Regions from separate parts of the Homo sapiens genome. Here region 1 is linked to region 2. Evidence: promoter capture Hi-C in human tissues and cell types (Jung and others, 2019). All regions are on one chromosome and are shown on one strand. The core of a region is centred on a gene start or on the middle of the fragment in contact, and the rest is flanking DNA. Distances in the headings are between cores, read along the strand shown.

The links. Contacts are between HindIII fragments. The study calls those that stand out against the background at their distance.
Region 1: a contact is called between a fragment that was not itself captured here and the fragment with the promoter of NACA in region 2, in 1 of the 25 tissues and cell types used here (aorta).

The regions. Positions count from the first base shown.
Region 1 is chr12:56,562,813-56,567,564 of GRCh38, reverse strand. The region is part of intron 2 of RBMS2 (RNA binding motif single stranded interacting protein 2); the gene reads right to left. Among named protein-coding and RNA genes, the nearest start is that of RBMS2, 43 kb to the right of the region's middle. RefSeq lists a silencer at 1,513-1,562 and enhancers at 1,146-1,683, 1,684-2,222. The HindIII fragment of the contact is 6,603 bases long and covers 1-4,726 here.
Region 2 is chr12:56,723,668-56,728,740 of GRCh38, reverse strand. NACA (nascent polypeptide associated complex subunit alpha) reads left to right here and starts at 3,442. Exons shown (of 9, transcript NM_001365896.1): 1 at 3,442-3,478; 2 at 4,218-4,289. The coding sequence starts at 4,220. RefSeq lists enhancers at 3,367-3,496, 3,587-3,636, 4,696-4,815. The HindIII fragment of the contact is 10,398 bases long and covers 1-3,635 here.

The sequences.
Region 1 (4,752 bases), core at 176-2,675, 160 kb after region 2:
ATGCCCAGCTCTAAGAAAATCATCTTATAAACAAAAAACCATCTAAATTTTGGTGATAAGGCCAAAGGGCTGCATATCCTTTCTTCTTCTTCTTCTTCCTTCTTCTTCTTTCTTCTTCTTCTTCCTCTCCTTCCTCTTCCTCTTCTCCTCCTTCTCCTTCCTCTTCTTTTTTTTTTTTTGAGATGGAGTTTTGCTGTTGTTGCCCAGGCTGGAGTGCAATGGTGTGATCTCAGCTCACTGCACCCTCCGCCTCCCAGGTTCAAGCGATTCTCCTGCCTCAGCCTCCCGAGTAGCTGGGATTACAGGCGCCTGCCACCACACCCAGCTAAGTTTTACATTTTTACTAGAGACGAGGTTTCACCATGTTGGCCAGGCTGGTCTCAAACTCCTGACCTCAGGTGATCCACCCGCCTCAGCCTCCCAAAGTGCTGGGATTACAGGCATGAGCCACCACACTTGGCCAAGTTATAGATTTTTGTCCAGTAAAAATGCAAATTATTTCTGTGCAGTAGATAAAATAATTGCAAAGGTTAGTGGCTTTACTATCCTATAGGACATAAACCAGTTTTTATCTAATGTAGCAATCTTATTCCAACATTCTTTCTTCATTTCCTATAAATAGTTCCTCAAATGCTCTTTGAACTCATTTTGCCATCCTGCTGGTTCCCTCATTAATGAGTTATAAAAATCTTTGACACATATTCATTTTATATTTGCATGACAGTTGTGTTTTCTTTTTGTTTTCTGAAACAGAGTTTCACTCTTGTTGCCCAGGCTGGAGTGCAGTGGCGTGATCTCGGCTCGCTGCAACCTCCGCCTCCCGGGTTCAAGCGATTCTCCTGCCTCAGCCTCTGGAGTAGCTGGGATTACAGGCATGCGCCACCACACCCAGCTAATTTGGTATTTTTTAGTAGAGATGGTGTTTCACCATGTTGGTCAGGCTGGTCTCGAACTCCTGACTTCAAGTGATCCACCTGCCTCAGCCTCCCAAAGTGCTGTGATTACAGGTGTGAGGCACTGTGCCCAGCCTAACAGTTGTGTTTTTCAACTTTTTGAAAATTATACTTTGGTAGCAGAGTCATGTGGAACTTCTAAAACTTGAGTAGTAGTGTATCACAGATCAGGGATTATATTAGAAGCGTTCCACTAGAAAAAAGCCTCTACATTCCACTCCAGGAGGGTGAAAATATTAAAGAGACAGAACAGAAATCACTAACAAAGTCAGAAGTACAAGAGCTAACTGAAAATAGTTGTCAGGGAATGAATTTGAGAATAATACCCCAAACAAGCAATTTTCCCATCTCTCCTTCCATCCCTAAAGAACATATGATGATTGATTTGTTTTCACTCCTTGGCGGCATCTCACTGACTTTTTTAGTAGAACTTCTGTGATCCAAAGGATTAGACAGAATAAGCCAAGCAATGCCCTGAAAGCTGGGAACAGAACACATTAAAAGGAGGGTGAGGATGGATGTGGCTATCCTAGCCCTTCCAGGCTACACACTTGGATTCATTCCCAAATTGAGGCAGGGGAGGGACTCATGAGAAGTCTGACTGTGGGGCAGAGGACACAAGTGCTGCTATCCTTATGAAGGCCCCAGGGTGGAGCTTGCTGTGGTCTAGCAGCTGAGACTTTGAGCTCAGAATTTCCACTGCAGCTGGCAACAGCTGGGTCACTGCTGCTGCTTCCTTGAAGGAGCCCCTCCGAGAAACAGGAGTTCCAGTCCTAGACTCCACGCCTCTCCTTCCCACATGCCAGACTTTAGGATCCAGCAATATTTACTTCCTCTACAACCCAGGGAGAGACAACTGGGACAAAGGCAGGAAGTCCGTCTACGCATGAGAAACATCCTTCCTAGAAAGGCTTAACTCCCTGCTCACAGCGGACAGAGGGCTCCACCCACCTGCTCTGCTCAGCCTCCTAGTCAGGACTCCTCTGGCACCTCTTTCATTCCTGCCTCACTCCTGCCTCTCCACAGTCCCCTTTTGGGCTCCTTACTTCGATCCTACATGCTGCCCTTGACTATACTTATGCTTCAGACACAGCAAAAGATAAGGCAATTGTTCAGAAAGGCAAAATAAAAATCCCTCTGTATCTGTGGGTTTCCCACTTGTGGATTGAACCAGCCATGGATTGAAAATATATAGGAAAAAAAAAAAAGTCTTTCTTCTAAGAGAGGTTCAGGGAAAAAAAACTAAAAAAATAACTGTTGGGTACTATGCTTAGTACCCAGGTGACAAAATAATCTATACACCAAATACCCAAGTCCCGAGTTTACCTATGTAACAAACCTGCACATGTACCCCTTAACCTAAAATAAAAGTTAAAATGTTTTTTAAAAGAAAGGATGGTTGCATCTGTACTGAACATATACAGACTTTTTTCTTGTCATTATTCCCTAAACAATACAGTATAACATTTATTTACATGGCATTTGTATTGTATTGAGGTATCATAAGTAATCTGGAGATAATTTTAAAGTATATAGGAGCATGTGCATAGGTTATATGCAAATACTACACCATTTTATTTTATTTTATTTTTATTATTTTGAGACGAAGTCTTGCTCTGTCACCCAGGCTGTGGTGCAGTGGCGTGATCTCGGCTCACTACAACCTCTGCTTTCTGGTGGCGTGATCTCGGCTCACTGCAACGTCTGCTTTCTGGGTTCAAGAGATTCTTCTGCCTCAGCCTCCTGAGTAGCTGGGACTACAGGTGCCCACCACCACACCCAGCTAATTTTTGTAGTTTTAGTACAGACGGGGTTTAACCATGTTGGCCAGGCTGGTCTCCAACTCCTGACCTCAGGTGATCCACCCATCTTGGCCTCCCAAAGTGCTGGAATTACAGGCATGAGCCATCATGCCTGGCCACTATACCATTTTATCTAAGGGACTTGAAGCCAGGCTCAGTAGCTCATGCCTGTAATCCCAGCTTTTGGGGAGGCCGAGGCAGGAGGAATGATTGAGCGCATAAGTTTGAGACCAGCCTGGGCAACATGATGAAATCTCATCTCTACAAAATTTACAAAAAATTAGCCAAGCATGGTGGTGTGTACCTGTAGTCCTAGCTACTCAGGAGGCTGAGGTGGGAGGATTGCTTGAGCCCTGGAGGCTACAGTTAGTTGTGATTACACCACTGCACTCCAGCCTTGGTGACAGAACAAGATCCTGTCTTAAAAAGAAAAAAAAGCGTAGGGACATGAGCTCAGTGAATTTTGGTATCCATGCAGGGGGACAGAGGAGGTCCTGGAACAAATCCCCCCCAGATACTGAGGAACGAATATATGGTAGTCTAATCAAGATTCTTCTCTGAGCGAGGCACGGTGGCTCACACCTGTAATCCCAGCACTTTGGGCGGCCGAAGTGGGCAGATCACCTGGTCAGGAGTTCGAGACCAGCCTGGACAACACAGTAAAACCCCATCTCTAGCAAAAAAAAAAACAAAAATTAGCCCGATGTGGTGGCGTGCGCCTATAATCTCAGCTACTTGGGAGGCTGAGACTCAGTCTTAAAAAAAAAAGATTCTTCTCTGTCTTGTGATGTGAGAGAATTTTTGTAGCACATTATATTTAGTACAAGAAACAAAATTTAGAAATCAAGGACCTATATTAGTATGATACTCTTTCGCTCCCTCAAAAACCAACATTTCTGCTAATTCCCACCTCTCAAAAATTACTAGTCCAAGACAGTCCCCTTAATTCCACTTACATACCTTTCTAGCAAGGTAAGCTGAGATAACGGACCAGTTTTAAAATTTTTTTTAATATATATTTTTACTATATTTTTTATAGAGACAAGGTCTCACTATGTTGCCCAGCCTGGTTTTGAACTCCTGAGCTCAAGCAATCCTTCTGCCTTGGTCTCCCAAGGTGCTAGGATTACAGGTGTGAGCCACCACGCCCGGCCCAAGGACCAGTTTTTTATATACACCAGACTTTATTTTTTATTGCTTATTATTTTTTGAGCTGGACATCTGTGCACTCTTGCCATTTTTCCAACATTCCTAATTGGGCAATTCCATGAATCAAATCTACTAAAAAGAACTCCGAAGGGTCTTCATGGGGTAGATACAGAATAATTGTTCCTATCTCCACCTTCTTTATCTGCTAATTTGAGGTCTCCATTCCCAAGGAATATCTCCAGCAGCAGAAAGTCTCCAAAGTGCATGATTTGATTGGCGAGTCCCACTTTCTTCCATCCCCACTGCCAGCTCTCTCATGCCTTCTAATTAACATCTATAGAGATATTAAACTTCTCTATTCAAGGTGTAAGGACAGCAGTCTTTCCACTAAGACCATCAGGTTGGGGGAGGTGCTGGAAATAAAGTTGGATATTAGGCTTTAAAGGCCAGTCCCACACTGGCTTTCCTTAGAGAAACACATAAAGGCTTTATAATATATATCAGTAGCAGGTAGATTTTTATTTATTTTTATTTTTTTGAGATGGAATCTCACTCTATTGCCCAGGCTGGAGTGCAGTGGCATGATCTCGGCTCACTGCAAGCTCAGCCTCCAGGGTTCACACCATTCTCCTGCCTCAGCCTTCTAAGTAGCTGGGACTACAGGCACCCGCCACCATGCCCGGCTAATTCTTTTGTATTTTTAGTAGAGACGGGGTTTCACCATGTTAGCCAGGATGGTCTCGATCTCCTGACCTCGTGATCCGCCCGCCTAGGCCTCCCAAAGTGCTGGGATTATAGGCATGAGCCACCGCACCCGGCCAGTAGCAGGTAGAATTTTTTAAGAGGCT
Region 2 (5,073 bases), core at 2,193-4,692:
CCCAAACTGCTGAGATTACAGGTGTGAGCCACGGCGCCCAGCCAATGTTTAGTTCTTAAAGACAGCAAAAATATACCCAAGGACTACTGACTTCCCCTTTTCTTGATTTGCCAATTCAGTCACATATTAGAACTGTAGAAACAAAGGGGCAAAGAAATGGCTTCTATCTTCAAAATTGCCAACTTAAGAAACACGCTAGCCGGGTGTGGTGGCTCACACCTGTAATCCCAGCATTTTAGGAGGCAGAGTGGGCAGATCACTTGAGGCCAGGAGTTCAAGACCAGCCTGGGCAACATGGCAAAACCCCGTCTCTACAAAAAATACAAAAATTAACTGGGTGTGGTGTTGTGTGCCTGTAGTTCCAGCTACTCGGGAGGCTGAGGTGGGAGAATCGTTTATGCCCAGGAGGCGGAGGCTGCAGTGAGCCATAATCACCCCACTGTACTCTAGCCTGGGCAACAGAGCCAGACCCTGTCTCAAAAAAAAAAAAGGAAAAAAAAATACATCCTTCCTTGGCTAGTCATTACTACAGAGAGAGGAAAAAGTAAGTGGGCTTGCTGGGGAAGAAAGAAAAATTGTGAATATGTACTTTTGTCTAAGGAAATTGGCTATTTCTGGTCCTTCTGAAGGTAAATGGACTAAAGGACTGCATTGAAAATCTTCCAGATCATGTATTTATTAGGTAGAAATTGATTATGTCTACAATTTAATAGTAACAAACTTTTTAAGTTTTATGTAAAGATTACATGGGATAATTTTATGAGATAGACTGTTTCTTTTTCCTTCCAATTAGAGTGTGAGTGTGTGTGTGTATATATACACACAGACTAATTTAATCTTCCAAACAATCCTATCAAGCAGCTACTATTTTTCCCATTTTACAGATCAGGAAACTGACATGAATATATATATAGGTTAATTGCCTAAACTGACCTAATAGATTTAGACAAAGGAGTCTTATTTCAGAGTCTGTCTTTAATGACTCCACAATATTGCCTCTCCTATTTGAGGAGGATTTCAGAATTTCCCATTCCTGGTAAACCCCACTATCTCACTTAATTTTAATTCACCAATCCTAATCCTCATTTCACTACGCTAAGGATTTCAGAAATGTTAAAGTAGCTTTCAAAGCATTTTAAATTTTCACTGCTTCCCTTAAAAGGCGGCCACACCAGGTATGGTGGCTCACACCTGTAATCCTAGCACTATGGGAGGCCGAAGCGGGTGGATTGCCTGAGCTCAGGAGTTCGAGACCAGCCTGGGCAACACGGTGAAACAGGAGAAGTTTTGTGGCAGGAGAATTGCCAGAATCCGGGAGGTGGAGGTTGCAGTAAGCTGAGATCGCGCCACTGCACTCCAGCCTGGGTGACAGCGAGACTCCGTCTCAAAAAAAAAAAAAAAAAAAAGGTGGCCACAGTCGTCTTAAAGCTATTAAATCAGGCCAGGCATAGTGGCTCACACCTGTAATCCCAGCACTTTGGGAGGCTGAGGCAGGCGGATAACCTACGGTCAGGAGTCCGGGCGGGGAGGCGGGTACCTATAATCCCAGCTACTCTGGAGGCTGAGACGAGAATCGCTTGAACCCGGGAGGCCGAGGTTGCAGTAAGCCGAGATCGCGCCACTGCACTCCAGCCTGGGCGACAGAGCGAGACTCCGCCTCAAAAAATAAATAAATGTTGACTGGTTTAGCTAATTCAGGTACAGCAAATATTTGTTGAGTTCTTTTGTAGGGCTGTGGGAAGATATGGGAGGCTTTTCATTAACACAACACTGATTTTACATTCTACTTTTCAAAAATACAGTTGTACAAAGCATGGTTTAAGGTGGGGTCCCAGACACCTAGAATAAATAAGCTTAGAATATCCAAGAAGTGCCAGGGGCGGTAGTTCACGCCTGTAATCCCAGCACTTTGGGAGGCCGAGGCAGGCGGATCACCTGAAGTCAGGAGGAGACCAGCCTGGCCAACATGGAGAAAGCCCGTCTCTACTAAAAATACAAAAAATAGACTGGCGTGGTGGCGCATGCCTGTAATCCCAGCTACCCGGGAGGCTGAGGCAGGAGAATCGCTTGACCCGGGAAGGGGAGGTTGCAGTGAGCCGAGATCGTGCCTTTGCACCCCAGCCTGGGCAATAAAAGTGAGACTGTCCCAAAAACAAAACAAACAGGCTGGGCATGGTGGCTCACGCCTGTAATCCCAGTAGTTTGGGAGGCCGAGGCAGGCGGATTACCTGAGGTCAGGAGTTCAAGACCAGCCTGGCCAACATGGTGAAACCCGTCTCTACTAAAAATAAAAAATTAGCCGGGGGTGGTGGCACACACCTGTAATCCCAGCTACTCGGGAGGCTGAGGCGGGACAACTGCTTGAGCCCTGGAGGCGGAGATTGCAGTGAGCCGAGATCGTGCCACTGCACTCTAGCCTGGCCGACAGAGCGACTCAAAAAAAAAAAAAAAAAAATCCAAGAAGTGCCCAAAATAGCAAGCAAAGGAATTGTATATGTGCCTATGTTCTTTTTTTCTGGGAAGGAGAATCTGCAGCTTTATAATTTCAACATCGGCTAAATTGTCGTGAACCTAAAACAATCAAAAGGGCCGGAATCTATTTAAAGAGTTTATTCAAGGGCAGTGTGAGGATGGACCAACCAGAAAACCTCCAAAGAATGGAGTCAGCCTTCAGAAGTAGAGAAGTTACGATTTCATTTATTTAGGGAGACAGAGGAGTTTTTAGCTGGATTACGTTATCCATACAAGGTTGGAACATAATTACAGAATTTGGTTACAAGAAGTGTTTTTTTTGGGGGGGGGGCGGGGGTACAGCTAACATTGTTTTACGAAGAGTTTAACACGCATGAGTTGCTGTCATCTGGTGACATCGTTTGAGTCTCTCTAGTCATTGAACAGAACAAGAAAAATCGAATTAAATTTATAATCTGAACTGAAGTTATATGTGACCCATCACATCTCTCAAGTTTTAAAATGGGTTTTTTTGTTGTTGTTGATGGGGGGGGAGAGGGTCCAGCAGCTTTTAAATGTTTTCACATCGTGTGTTCCAAAAATAACTGGTTAGCCTAAGTCACTTCCACCCTCCAATGTTGTGAATGCAGTCTCTAGCATTCGCTATTTAATGTCTTCTTCCTGCACTATTTGAGAAATCGCGAGGTCGACTTAATACCGCAGTCGCCACTTCGCGGACCGGAGGGCGGAGTCTGCTTAGTTCTGAGGACTGCGTGGGTCCGCGCAGAGAGCTCCTGCTAGGCCTGCGCGTCCCGTTCTAAATTCTTACCCTTTAGTCCTTGTCACCACCCCCGCCGTGGGAACGGCCTGACAGTCACTCGTCAAAGGAAGTGGCTGCCGGCAGCTCTTGACCCGGAATCGGATCCTAGTCCCACCCCCTCCGCTCCAGGCTTCCTTCTGCAACAGGCGTGGGTCACGCTCTCGCTCGGTCTTTCTGCCGCCATCTTGGTTCCGCGTTCCCTGCACAGTAAGTACTTTCTGTGCCGCTACTGTCTATCCGCAGCCATCCGCCTTTCTTTCGGGCTAAGCCGCCCCGGGGACTGAGAGTTAAGGAGAGTTGGAGGCTTTACTGGGCCACAGGGTTCCTACTCGCCCCTGGGCCTCCGGACAAAATGGGGTCTGCGGTTGGTGTCCTGGCAAAAGCAGGGTAGAAGGGCTGCGGGGCGGGCCCAGAATCCGAGCCTGCAGAGATGGGAGCAGTTGCAGTGTTGAGGGCGGAAGAGGAGTGCGTCTTGTTTTGGGAACTGCTTCACAGGATCCAGAAAAGGGTAAGGGGTCACAGCCTTAGAACCTGTAACACCGTTCTCCCTGTGACAAGCAAGTGTTGGACTTAAAACACCGTCTTTCCCCTCCTGGTACCCCAAAGTCGGCAAACGTAGTCCAGGAGGCCCCAGCCCAGCCAGTGTGAGTATTAGGAGTGGAGGGGGTTCACAGTAGCGTCTGAAGTCTCCCATGATCGAGAGCCAGCCCGGGATCCTCTCCCTCGGGTTGAGAATGCAGTGGGAATTGCTGGCCTTGATAGAGGCGTGAGGGTCACATCATATTTACCTCTTATTCCCAGGTGCTTTGGGGAAGGTTGTCACCAAACACCCTCACGATTTTTTTCTAACAGCCCTCCTCGGAGTTTTTAAGAATACTTATCTCCGGGTTGGGCAAGTGAATGTATCCCAATCAATTTAGGCCTCCTTTTTATTCCCTTCCTTCAGAAATGCCCGGCGAAGCCACAGAAACCGTCCCTGCTACAGAGCAGGAGTTGCCGCAGCCCCAGGCTGAGACAGGTAGGTTTCCCTACCCTCCTTGCCATTAATTAAAATTAACCCTAAAGCCATTTGGTGGGCAAAATGACCAAGGGGAAATACACTTTTTAGGAGGATGGGGTTGCAGCTTTACCAAGGAGGATAGACCGTAAAATTACTATCCTGGAGATACTTCTTTAGGGATTTGGAGTAAAAATAATATTTTTAAGATTCGTGGACGTTAAAAGTACCCTAGCTTGCTTTCTATGTTATGCCTGTCGCCTCAAAAGAAGCTCTCCTGTGGAACCCCCACCTCACATAGGAAAACTCAGCAGGGAATGGGCTCAGTGATTCTTACCTATTGGAACTAGATGACACAGGCCAAGGAGCCCGGAGCATTTGTGAAACTCCAGCCAGCAAGTTGCATCAAGGTTTTAGTTAGCAGAGCTTGGCATTGTGCCTTTATCACATGTCTGGATGAGATGTGTGCTGGTGGTAAATGTGTCCTACTGGGCCCCAGAGTCGTCCTAGGTCGGATAACTTGTTTATGGGTTGGTGGTGCTGAGATACTTCTAGTGTGCTGGAATAGTTCCTGCATCATTGTGTGAAACCCAGGATTGAAATAAATCCTTTTATCCTCAGCGTCGAAATTAACGACTGTGAAGGCTAATTTTAAATTCTGGTTAAAACATATCTCTGTAGAAAACTTAGGAGGAGGTAATGAAAAGTTCTTAAAATGATAGCCTTTCTGAGTCAGTTGTGCAGCGTTAAATGAAGGAAATCTTCAGGCTGTAATTTTCATTCTCACCTTTTTGGTTTTTTTTAA